Linked DNA regions of Homo sapiens: region 1 is linked to region 2. The links are contacts of gene promoters, found by promoter capture Hi-C in blood cells and fetal thymus (Javierre and others, 2016). All regions are on one chromosome and are shown on one strand. Each heading gives the region's core, a stretch centred on a gene start or on the middle of the fragment in contact. The rest is flanking DNA. Distances are from core to core; before and after follow the strand shown.

The links. Contacts are between HindIII fragments. The CHiCAGO score rates a contact against its expected background, and 5 or more counts as called.
Region 1: a fragment that was not itself captured here is called in contact with the fragment with the promoter of NOL9 in region 2 in 1 of 17 cell types (activated CD4 T cells); the score reaches 5.1 in activated CD4 T cells.

The regions. Positions count from the first base shown.
Region 1 is chr1:6,220,695-6,226,969 of GRCh38, forward strand. It overlaps ICMT (isoprenylcysteine carboxyl methyltransferase), which reads right to left. Exons shown (of 5, transcript NM_012405.4): 5 at 499-4,568. The coding sequence ends at 4,386. It overlaps RNF207 (ring finger protein 207), which reads left to right. Exons shown (of 18, transcript NM_207396.3): 18 at 1-605. Among named protein-coding and RNA genes, the nearest start is that of ICMT, 12 kb to the right of the region's middle. The HindIII fragment of the contact is 2,283 bases long and covers 3,223-5,505 here.
Region 2 is chr1:6,551,414-6,556,988 of GRCh38, forward strand. It overlaps NOL9 (nucleolar protein 9), which reads right to left and starts at 3,100. Exons shown (of 12, transcript NM_024654.5): 1 at 2,694-3,100. The coding sequence starts at 3,089. It overlaps TAS1R1 (taste 1 receptor member 1), which reads left to right and starts at 3,894. Exons shown (of 6, transcript NM_138697.4): 1 at 3,894-4,151. The coding sequence starts at 3,961. RefSeq lists an enhancer at 911-1,411 and a silencer at 2,806-3,065. The HindIII fragment of the contact is 17,405 bases long and covers 1-3,388 here.

The DNA.
Region 1 (6,275 bases), core at 3,114-5,613, 330 kb before region 2:
TGGGTGGCAGCAACCTTTTTTCTAGTAGTTTTTTCCCAGCAGTTTTCCATTTCTCCACAGTATCCTTTTCATTTAGAGGAGCTTAATAAATGCTTTTTAAAAAGTAACCCACGTGACGTAAAATTTTACAAGTTTTTGTGGCAAAATGATGCCCAGATAGTCACATTTAAGCAAATATTCAGCTTGATTCAGTGATTAACAGCAAATGGGTCTACGTGCTAACATGGCAGCACATTCAACACATAACACATCACTCACATTGACGTCCACTGTCCCTGCACCTGCTACTTCAGGGGCACTGAGGCTCCTGTTCCAAGGCCTTACAAACCTATGTGGTGGCCTGCAGGGCAAAAGGAATTATCATTACAACTGGTTAGAGGTAGGAATTCAGAAAGAAATTGAGGAGGCCAAACACACGTCGTTTGAGGCTAAAGGCTTAAGACGCTTCTTACCCAAGAGTGACCTCAGAGTTTCACATCCCAGACAATCACACTGTGGTTGAGTGAAATCAAGTGCAGTTTTATTTAAGAACTGGAAAGAATAATCAGTATCTGTGAAAGAAAATCCAATTTAGAATATTTAAATAAACATTTATGTAAAAAGAAGAGTAGAATAATTACTCCGTTCAGTTCCTCTCCTTGCAATGGGATAGGCTGCCTCTGCTGCAGATGGCTGGGTCTTCCAAACCCATGACAAGTGCCACGGCCTCTGCAGCAGTGGCCCAGAGAGTAGGCACTTCCCAGCATGACAGAGAGGCCGAGGCCTTCTAACCTTGCCAAACCACTACAAAAGCAAACTAGGGTGGGCAAGCCCAACTACCTAAGGCAGGAAGAAAGTGCAGTGAAGGGACAGTGGTGTGCTGTGCGTATCGTGGGGGTACTCCTAAGCAGCTAGCTGTTGGCGAGATCTTACAAAGCCTGATCGGCTAACGCAGCTTCCTGGTTTAGGAACATTTTCCCCGGTCGTATCAATCCCCCAGGTTGGTAAATGAACAGAAGGGATGAATAAAGCCTACTTTTTAGGCTCAAGGAGCAGCTCGTGAAGGGGTGGCAGGTGCGCTGCTGCCTTGTTTTCTGTCCTGCTAAGAGGCTCACCCCGCGACCTCTTCTGTAAACTGCCACTCAGCAGCGGCCTGCAAGCCCTCACGAAAGGCTTCACTCTATGCTGTTTCCAGGTAGCTTTGTTCTGACAGTACCTATTTTCCACTTCAGAATCTCCACTTTAAAACCTGCAATGGAAAAATAAATCTCTTGACAGTTTTTTAAATCGAGAAAATTGGTGATGTGGCCTTGGCAGCAAATACCCAGAAAGCCTTTACCTCATTAACCTGATTCTCCACGGGCCCTGCCACTGCTAAATTTATAAAGCTAAAAATAATCTCAAGATCATGGAACTAAAAAGAAGTCAATCACTTACCAAATCCTGTCCTTAAGGAGTTCATCTTGGCTGGGCGTGGTGGCTCACGCCTGTAATCCCAGCACTTTGGGAGGCCGAGGCGCGTGGATCACTTGAGGTCAGGAGTTCGAGACCAGCCTGGCCATCATGGTGAAACCCCGTCTCTACTAAAAATACAAAAAAATTAGCTGGGCATGGTGGCCCAAGCCTGTAATCCCAGCTACTCAGGAGGCTGAGGCAGGAGAATCGCTTGAACCCGGGAGGCAGAGGTTGCGGTGAGCCGAAATGGTGCCACTGCACTCCAGCCTCCAGCCTGGGCCACAGAGCAAGACTGTCTTAAGAAAATAAAAAAAATGGAGTTCATCTTTTATCCCTAAGTAATTGCTGACTTCTGCTCTGGGATTATAAACAGGGTGGGAATGTTCTCCCACCATCCCTACCCCTGGAATTCCTCTCCAAAGCAGAGTACGTCAAGTTTTCCCTGGTGTCAGACAGCATTTCACCATGAAACCCTAAGACCTGCCTCCTGGGCTCCTTCCAGCTGGTGGGCCTGGTGTGAAGGTGGGCTTCCTGGGCCTCTGGCAGATGGAGGATGGCATTAAATGCCAACACAGTCAGCTTACCATCCACAAGGCCAGCAGCTGCCAACAGCTGCCCTAGACCTATCAACAAGACAACTTCATGGCTCCCAATGGGAATGGAGGCTGGGCCCGCCCTACTTAGAGCAGGGGAAAGAACTTTTCCCTCAAAGAGCCGGGGCAGGATGCCAGAATCTAACTACATCCTCTCCCGGTTTGCAGTTCTAGGAAGTGGAATTTGCTGCCCTAGGCGTGGTCTAAAGGACAAGTTTAGAAATGATTCAACTCAAGTTCCTAAACAGAGTAAGTGCCAGTTGATGTCCCACCGTGGATCCTTTACTCCAGAAAAATTGTAATGATGGCTCGGCCACCGCCTTGGCTAGAGTCCCACTGCACGCGTGTCGTGAGGGCCGATGGGCAAGTCCGTCCGGTTTTTTTTGTTGTTGTTGTTGTTTTTTGAGATGGAGTCTCGCCCTGTTGCCCAGACTGAAGTGCAAAGGCCCGATCTCAACTCACTGCAACCTCCGCCTCCTGGGTTCAAAGGATTCTCCTGTCTCAGCCTCCTGAGTAGCTGGGATTACAGGCACCCGCCAGCACGCCCAGCTATTTTTTTGTATTTTTAGTAGAGACGGGGTTTTATCATGTTGGCCAGGCTGGTCTCGAACGCCTGACCTCATGATCCACCCGCCTTGGCCTCCCAAATTGCTGGGATTACAGGCGTGAGCCACCGCGCCCGGCCGTCTGTCTGGTTTTCAAACCAATCAATGAACCCGTAAGCCTCTTTGGTATATATAACAATGAAAAAATTCATTAAGCCATGAAATCTAGAAATAAGTCATATTTCTGAGTTGATAAAATGCTTTTCTGAACATACATTTTAGGTATCTGGCACAATTAACCAAATGTCTGCCCATTTTTGTGTAGCTTTCATACAGTACAGATTTCATTGATGTCGCTCCCACATCTGAGTATTAAAAACATTTGACATTGTTCTTCTCAGTCCTCACAACACCCCTGTGAGGTAGGTGGTATTGACCCCATTCCACAGATGGGGAGGTCTAGGCACGGAAAGGTTTAGTGGCTCCTCACAGGCCGCGTGGTGGGGCAGCAGAGTGGTGCTCTGGCCCCGCGCCGACGCCGCCTTCACATTCACACTTCTTCAGTGCCACCGCAACACTGCATGGCAGGATCTCACGCTGAGGCCAAGTTCCTGTCTAGTCCAGAATGAAGCCAGCGTCTCACCTCTTAAAGCTTCGATGTGTGACTCAAAGCCAACTTACTCTCCCAAACTTGCAAAACAAACATACTGACTGAATCTTAGTTGGGACTATTTGCAGTATTTAAGATTATTTTTGAGAGTCAATCTGCTTGGATTTGTAGTTGTATATGCTCAAATCCCTTTGGAAAACAGTTTGAAATGACATGAGGGACAATGTAATTTTGAGAACAGAACACAGAAAACAAGAGTTCTGAGACTGGCATTGAAATTGAGAATATAAGCTATGGTAAAATGAGAATCAAATCCCAAATAAACGGAGAGCAGCACTTCTCAATGTTTAAGGCCACGCACAGGGCAGGCATTCAGTAAGCACTTCTTGGATCAAAAGAAACTGATGCTCCTTTGAGCCGCCTATCACTGACAACAGGAGCTGAGACCCCCGGGAAAGCCAGCCAGGGCCATGATCCCCTTGGCCTGGGGCCACGGTCACACAAAGCCACTCAGCCAAATCGTGTAGAGTTATCTAGGCTTACTTGCTGCAGGATAAAAGTTGAACTAGAACACCAAGCATTGAGCTAGGAATACCCCTTTGAATGTGTACTGCTACTTATAAAAAATAGGTATGTAGCTATGATTAAATAGATGAAGGGCCAAAGCATCCTATGAGGAAGTATTTTTAAAATTGTATAGATGTTCATGCAGTGGGGGACAGAAATAAAGAGGTTAAAGCGGTCTGTGTTTTTCGGTTAAATGAAAGGTTGTAAATGCATTTTTACCGCTGATAAGAAGGGGTACCTGCTACCCCTTTCTGCTGTGGAGTGTTGCTGAGGACAGAGTCCATCTCTCCCAGCGAGTCCTGGTTATCCTTTACTTACACTCTGGCCTCGGGGGCAGTGGCGTGTGGCCTCGGTCCTCCCCAGGTAACTCTGGAGGGCGCTGTGGAATATTGCTGTGATTTGCCCCTTACTCGTCTTTCACCCATGTTCCGCCTTGATTCGGCATAAGGACAGACTGCTCCAGTGGGGCCTTGGGTCCTCAGGCCTTCTGACCGCTTGGTCTTGAGTGACATTCCAGAAGAGTGACTAATGACATAAAACGATTAAGAAAATCCATGTGGCAGCGGCCAACCGGAAACAGTTTTGTCCCAGGCTGCACAGGGTCGGAGGCCCCAAGGTCACCGGGGCCACTGCCCGTCACAGGTCCACCTTGACCCCCTTTATGAAAGGCAGGCCCGTGGGCACCCTCTTCTTATACTCCAGGTACTCCTCTCCAAAAAAGTGAATTAGTGAGATTTCTTCTTCTTCTGTTCGATCGCGGAAGAATCGCCACACTGTCAGGGCATAGCTGACGCCGCAGATGGGGTTACACAGCATCACCTAACAGAGGGAGACACCAGGCTCATCAGGGTGACCGTGGGATGACGCCCTGTGCTTTGGTAGGCGTCTGTCTCTAATACCCAGAGGATTTCTGTGCCCATGCCCTGCTGAGACCGTCAGGGTCTCTGGGAGCAGTACTGTCACCTTAGCCCTGAGCACTCAGTGCTGCAGGCCTTTCTCACGTGCTTTCCTGTTGCTCCTCTTACATGAGAGAGATCTGTAAATCACAAGATCAACCTCTTGGATTTCAACCCTCAGCTTGGGGTGACAGCAATGCCCCCCACCTCCAGGTGTGAGCTCCCCAACATGAGGTCCCATGCACGCTGCCTTCCTGCCCAGGACCCTCCCACCACAAATGCATTCGCTTACACCACAGCTGCCTGGGCCTCTGCCTCCTAAACCCACAGCCTCTGCTTCAGCACGAGATACAGTGCCACAAAACTCAGCTTCCGAAATGCCCCTTCCAGCAGATTACCTCCACGCTCAGAGAGCTCCAGAGACTGAACCCCACCCCCTGAGTCTGGGTTTCCAACCCCAGAAGAGCAGCACTTCGCCCACTTCCCCAGTCTCCTGCCCTCCCCACGCTGTGCCCACTTTGCCTCTTTTTTTTCCCCCGAGACAGATTGTCACTCTGTCACGTGGAGTGCAGTGGCGTGATCATGGCTCACTGCAGCCTTAACTGCTTGGGCTCAAGTGATTCTCCCACCTCAGCCTCCCAAGTAGCTGGGACTAAGGGCACATGCCACCACACCCAGCTAATTTTTGTATTTTTTGTAGAGATGGGGTTTCACAATGTTGCCCAAGCTGGTCTCGAACTCCTGGCCCTTTCTTCCACCTTTAAGAACATCCTGGCCAGGTACGGTGGCTCATGTCTGTTAATTGCAGTACTTTGGGAGGCCAAGGAGGGCAGATCACCTGAGGTCAGGAGCTTGAGACAAGCTTGGCCAACATGGCGAATCCCCGTCTCTACCAAAAATAGAAAAATTAGCTGGGCGTAGTGGTGGGAGCCTGTAATCCCAGCTACTTGGGAGGCTGAGGCAGGAGAATTGCTTGAACCCAGGAGGCAGAGGTTGCAGTGAGCTGAGATCGCCACTGCATACCAGCCTGGGCGACAGAGCGAAACTCCCTCTCAAAAAAAACAAAGAACATCCTTCCCACTGATCTCCAGCCAAACAGTCCTTCAAGGCCAAAAGCATTCCCCAGCTCCTCAGGGAACCACTCACCTACACCTGCCCACTGGTCCCCTGTGGATGTGCATCTTCCCCAACATACATTTTCTGTATGTTTTCTGAATATATATTTTAGGCTCCAATACAGCCACCCGGAGAGCCAGGCTCATGTCCTGACCTCTCACACCTTCTCTTATTGAGCACTTACTATGTTCCCAGCGCCATGCTAAGCCCTTTACAATCATTACCCTGTTCAACTCTCATGGCAAACCTTTGAGGGCACGCTACTATCCCCACTTTGTTTTTTTTAAAATTTTATTATTTTTTAAAGACAGGGTCTCACTATATTGCCCAGGCTGGACTTGAACTCTTGGCCTCAAGCCATCCTCCTGCCTCAGCTTCCAGAGTAGGGGGAACTACAGGCATGTGCCACTATGTCTAGCTGCCCCCACTTTAACATGAGAGGAGAAGGAGGCCAAGCAGTGAATGTCAGAATCAGGACTGGCCCAGTCAGTGACTCCGGGGCCTGTACCCTCAC
Region 2 (5,575 bases), core at 1,850-4,349:
TGCACCCCACCCCCGCCACCACCATCTCTACTAAAATTACAAAAATTAGCTGGGCATGTGCCTGTAATCCCAGCTACTCCAGAGGCTGAGGCATGAGAATCGCTTGAATCCAGAGGCAAAGGCTGCAGTGAGCTGAGATCATGCCAGTACACTGCAGCCTGGGCGACAGTGATACTGTCCCAAAAATAAATAAATAAATAAAAATTAAATAAAATTAAAAAATTTAAAAGGCTGCAGCCATAAAAAGGGATGAGATCATGTCCTTTGCAGGGACTTGGATGGAGCTGGAAGCCGTTATCTTCAGCAAACTAATTCAGGTACAGAAAATCAAATATCGGCCGGGTGTGGTGGCTCACGCCTGTAATCCCAGCACTTTGGGAGGCCGAGGCGGGTGGATCACAAGGTCAGGAGATCAAGACCATCCAGGCTAACACGGTGAAACCCCGTCTCTACTAAAAAAAATACAAAAAACTTAGCCAGGTGTGGTGGCGGGCACCTGTAGTCCCAACTACTCGGGAGGCTGAGGCAGGAGAATGGCGTGAACCCGGGAGGCGGAGCTTGCAGTGAGCCCAGATTGCGCCACTGCACTCCAGCCTGGGCAACAGAGCGAGACTCCATCTCAAAAAAAAAGAAAGAAAATCAAAATATGGTATGTTCTCACTTATCAGTGGGATTTGAACCATGAGAACACATGGATACATGGTGGGTAACAACATACACTGGAGCCTGTGGGGGTCTGGGGAAGGGCGTCAGGAAGAATGGATGCTGGGCTTAATACATAGGTGATGTGTTGATCTGTGCAGCAAACCACCAAGGCACCCATTTAACTACGTAATAAATCTGCACACCCTGCGTATGTACCCTGGAACTTAAAAGTGCTGGGATTACAGGCGTGAGCCACCACACCCGGCCGATATTTGATTTTCTGTACCTGAATTAGTTTGCTGAAGATAACGGCTTCCAGCTCCATCCAAGTCCCTGCAAAGGACATGATCTCATCCCTTTTTATGGCTGCAGCCTTTTAAATTTTTTAATTTTATTTAATTTTTATTTATTTATTTATTTTTGGGACAGTATCAGCTTACCACAACCTCCACCTCCCAGGTTAAAGCAATTCTCCTGCCTCTGCCTCCAGAGTAGCTGGGATTACAGGCGTGTGCCACCACATCTCAAACTCCTGACCTCAGGTGATCCGCCCACCTAGGCCTCCAAAAGTGCTGGGATTACAGGCGTGAGCCACTAGACAGGGTTTCGCCATATTGGCCAGGCTGGTCTCGAACTCGCTACCTCAGGTGATCCACCCACCTCAGCCTCCAAAAGTGCTGGGATTACAGGCGTGAGCCACTGTGCCCAGCTCTCTCTTTTCCTTTTCCTTTCTTTCTTTTCCCCTCCCTCCTTCCTTTCTTCCTTTCTTTCGAGACGGAGTCTCACTCTGTCGCCCAGGCTGGAGTGCAATGGCGTGATCTTGGCTCACTGCAACCTCCAGCTCCCGGGTTCAAGCAAGTCTCCTGCCTTAGCCTCCTGAGTAGCTGGGATTACAGGCGTGTGCTACCATGCCCAGCTAATTTTTGTATTTTTAGTAGAGATGAGGTTTCACCATGTTGGTCAGGCTGGTCTCAAACTCCTGACCTCAGATGATCTGCCAGCTTCGGCTTCCCAAAGTGCCGGGACTACAGGCCTGAGCCACCGCGCCTGGCCCATACTTTATATTTTTAAACTAAGATCATACCCCATGGCAGCTACAGAGAAAGCATGGTGACCGTGAACTCGGCTCTGTGCTCCTGGTTCAGACAGACTCTACCACTCTGTCCTTTTAAAGACCCACAGCTTGCCAAGTCTCTTCCAGAACTTCCTGGGTTTTGCCTTCCCTCCTGCATTAGACAGGGAATCTCCAGGAATGGCATCCACGTTAAGAATCAGGCTGCCTGAGTTCGACTCCTAGCTCTCCCTCTACTGTGTAAGTTACCCAACCTCAGTCTCCTCGTCTGTAAACACTTAGAGAGAGGGACAACTACTCCGTAAGAGAGCTGGATGTTTAAATGGGTTCAAAGCCTAAAACACTTTTGGAACCCTTAAATCCTGGAATTTCTGAGCTCTCAGTAATTGCAACCTTTTTTTTTTTTAACTATTAAAATCCCTTTCAGAGTTCCAGGTGCGGTGGTTCACACCTGTAATCCCAGCACTTTGAGAGGCCGAGGCGGGTGGATCACAAGGTCAGGAGATCGAGACTATCCTGGCTAACATGGCGAAACCCCGTTTCTACTAAAAATACAAAAAATATAGCCGGGCGAGGTGGCACGCGCCTGTAGTCCCAACTACTCCGGAGGCTGAGGCAGGGGAATCGCTTCAACCCGGGATGCGGAGGTTGCAGTGAGCCGAGATTGTGCCACTGCACTCCAGCCTGGGGGACAGAGTGAGACTCTGTCTCAAAAAGAAAAAGAAAGAAAGAAAACAAAACAAAATAAAGTCCCTTTAGCTCGTAAGGCCTAGGGACCCCTTAGCAGGGTACCTGTTACCCTGCTGCTCAGGGGAGCCTAGTTGCCACCAACCATCAAGAGGATGGACTTGAATCCGACTGGCAGCCAGAGAACAGGCCCGGGGGACCACGGTCCTCTCCTACCCTGCAGCTCTCCCGGGGCTGCCTCTCCAGCCCTCCCTGCCCTCGGGGACTACTACCGGCGCCCCCCACCTACCTGCTCGACCGGCAGCAGCAGCAACGCGCGGCCGGGGCCCACGGGCCGCACCGGTGGGATGAGGAGAGGCCGGTGGCAACTCGAGGCGGATTCGAGTTCGGGTTCGGACTCGGGTTCGGAGGCCGGGGTCGGGCTAGGGATCGGGCTGGGGGTCGCGGTGTTGGGTCTCCGGGCCGCCGCCGCGCGCGACACCTGGCGGGCTCCCTCCCTCCAGTCCACGCCGGACGCCTGGGCTTGCAGTAACCGCCACCGTAGGCGCCGCCGACCGCACCAGCGCAGGCTCCCGAGCCGGCGGCGGGGCCGGCGGCTGAGGATGAGCTGGGGCCGGGCCTTGCGGACCCGCAGCCAAGTGGAACGGCAGGAACCCCGCTTTAGCAGCAGTCCCGAGTCCGCCATGCTGGGTCCTCAGGGCCTACCGCGCGAGAATCTCGCGAGATCCCGTCGGTCCGCCCCGCTGCCCTCCCAGCTGCCGAAAAGAGGGGCCTCCGAGCCGCCGGCGCCCTCTGCCGGCAACCTCCGGAAGCACACTAGGAGGTTCCAGCCGATCTGGTCGAGGGGCTCCACGGAGGACTCCATTTACGTTACGCAAATTCCCTACCCCAGCCGGCCGGAGAGAGAAAGCCAGAAACCTCGCGACCAGCCATGGGCCACCTCTCCGGAAAAACACCGGGATATTTTTTTTCTCCTGCAGAAAAAGCTTTAGGATTGGCAGTTTAAACAAAACATGTCTATTTGCATACCTTCGGTTTGCATGCATTTGTTTCGAAGTGAGCAACCCTGGGTAACAAGGCGAAAGTATATGACAATTTGCTCAGAATCTTAATGTCAGAAAACTGGAGACTGGGGCAGGGGGGTGTCGACTCAAAGCTGTGTCTCATTTAGTAAACTGAGGCCCAGGTAAAAAGTTCTGAAACCTCGCAACACCCGGAGAAATTGTGTTCCAGCCTCCCACCTCGCCCCAAAATGCCAGAGCTCCTTTTCTAAGCCAGGTGAAGTCACAGAGCGTGGACAGAACCCACAACCGTCCAGAGGAAGGGTCACTGGGTGCCACCTGGTTTGCATCTGTGCCTTCGTCCTGCCCAGTTCCTGAGTGGGACCGCAGGCCCGGAATGTCAAGGCAAACAGTCCTGCTTCAGCCACTGGGCTCCAGTCCCACCCCTTTTGGGGGCCTGAAGTTAGGAAGCATCCGGCAGCTGCCTTCTATTTAAGCAACTGGCCTCCTTAGAGGCCACTCCTTGGCCATGCCAGGCGCGGGCATCTGGCCAGCATGCTGCTCTGCACGGCTCGCCTGGTCGGCCTGCAGCTTCTCATTTCCTGCTGCTGGGCCTTTGCCTGCCATAGCACGGAGTCTTCTCCTGACTTCACCCTCCCCGGAGATTACCTCCTGGCAGGCCTGTTCCCTCTCCATTCTGGCTGTCTGCAGGTGAGGCACAGACCCGAGGTGACCCTGTGTGACAGGTGAGTGAGGGGCCAGCAGAGCCACACTTAGTGGGACCCCTGGCTATAGGGCCCCTCTGGCTGCCATCCTCCAAACAGGACCTTGCCTCTGCCTTTGCCCCTTGAACTGTCCCCAGGCCTTGTTCATCAATCCACTTGCCACCTAAGTGCTGGCTAGACCTTCCTAGACACTTCGGCCAGTTTCCAATTATTTCACCCTTGCTGTTAGAATGTGTTGTATTGTAACTTCATTGAAATTGGTTCTTGGCTTTGTACCATACCTAGGTGGCCAGGCCTAAGCAAGGGCAGCTTTTTCCCTCTTCTTTTTTTTTTTTTTTTTTTTTTTGAGACGGAGTCTCGCTCTTTCACCCAGGTGGGACTGCAGTGGCGCGATCTCAGCTCACTGCAAGCTCCGCCTTCCGGGTTCACGCCATTCTCCTGCCTCAGCCTCCCGAGTAGCTGGGACTACAGGCACCCGCCACTGCGCCCAGCTAATGTTTTGTATTTTTAGTAGAGACGGGGTTTCACCGTGTTAGCCAGAATGGTCTCGATCTCCTGACCTCGTGATCTGCCCACCTCGGCCTCCCAAAGTGCTGGGATTACAGGCGTGAGCCACCGCGCCCAGCCGCTTTTTCCCTCTTCTATCTTCTCTCCACTCCTACCCATGTTCAAAGTTCCCTAGAGTCCCAGATGACAAGTAGGATTCTCCATGGTTCTTCATGGGGTGGGAAGGGAAGACACATCCCATTAGATGCTTTAGGAGCTTGACAAATATAAATTAGGTTGGTGCCATCATGAAGTCAACAATCTAGGTAGAGGGAAACTACTGCTTTTCTTTTATTTCTATCTATCTATCTATCTATCTATATTTTTTTGAGATGGAGACTCAGTCTGTCATCCAGGCTGGAGTGCAGTGGCATAATCTTGACTCACTGCAACCTCCTCCTCCTGGGCTCAAGTGATTCTCATGCCTTAGCCTCGGGAGTAGCTGGAATTATAGGCATGTGTCACCATACCCAGCTAATTTTTGTATTTTTCGTAGAGACAGGGGTTTCACCATGTTGGTCAGGCTGGTCTCGAACTCCCGACCTCAGGTGATCCGCCCACCTCGGCCTCCCAAAGTGCTAGGATTATAGGCTTGAGCCACCGCGCCCGGCCTGCTTTTCTTTTAAAGAAGACAGTTGCAGCCGAGCACAGTGGCTCACGCCTGTAATCCCAGCACTTTGGGAGGCTGAGACAGGCGGATCACGAGGTCAGGAGTTCAAGATCAGTCTGGCCAACATAGTGAAACCCTGTCTCTACATAAAATACAACACATTAGCCGGGTGTGGTGGTGTGCACCTGTAATCCCAGCTACTCAGGAGCCTGAGGCAGGAGAATCGCATGAACCCGGAGGTGGAGGTTGCAGTGAGCCAAGATCACACCATTGCATTCCAACCCGGGCG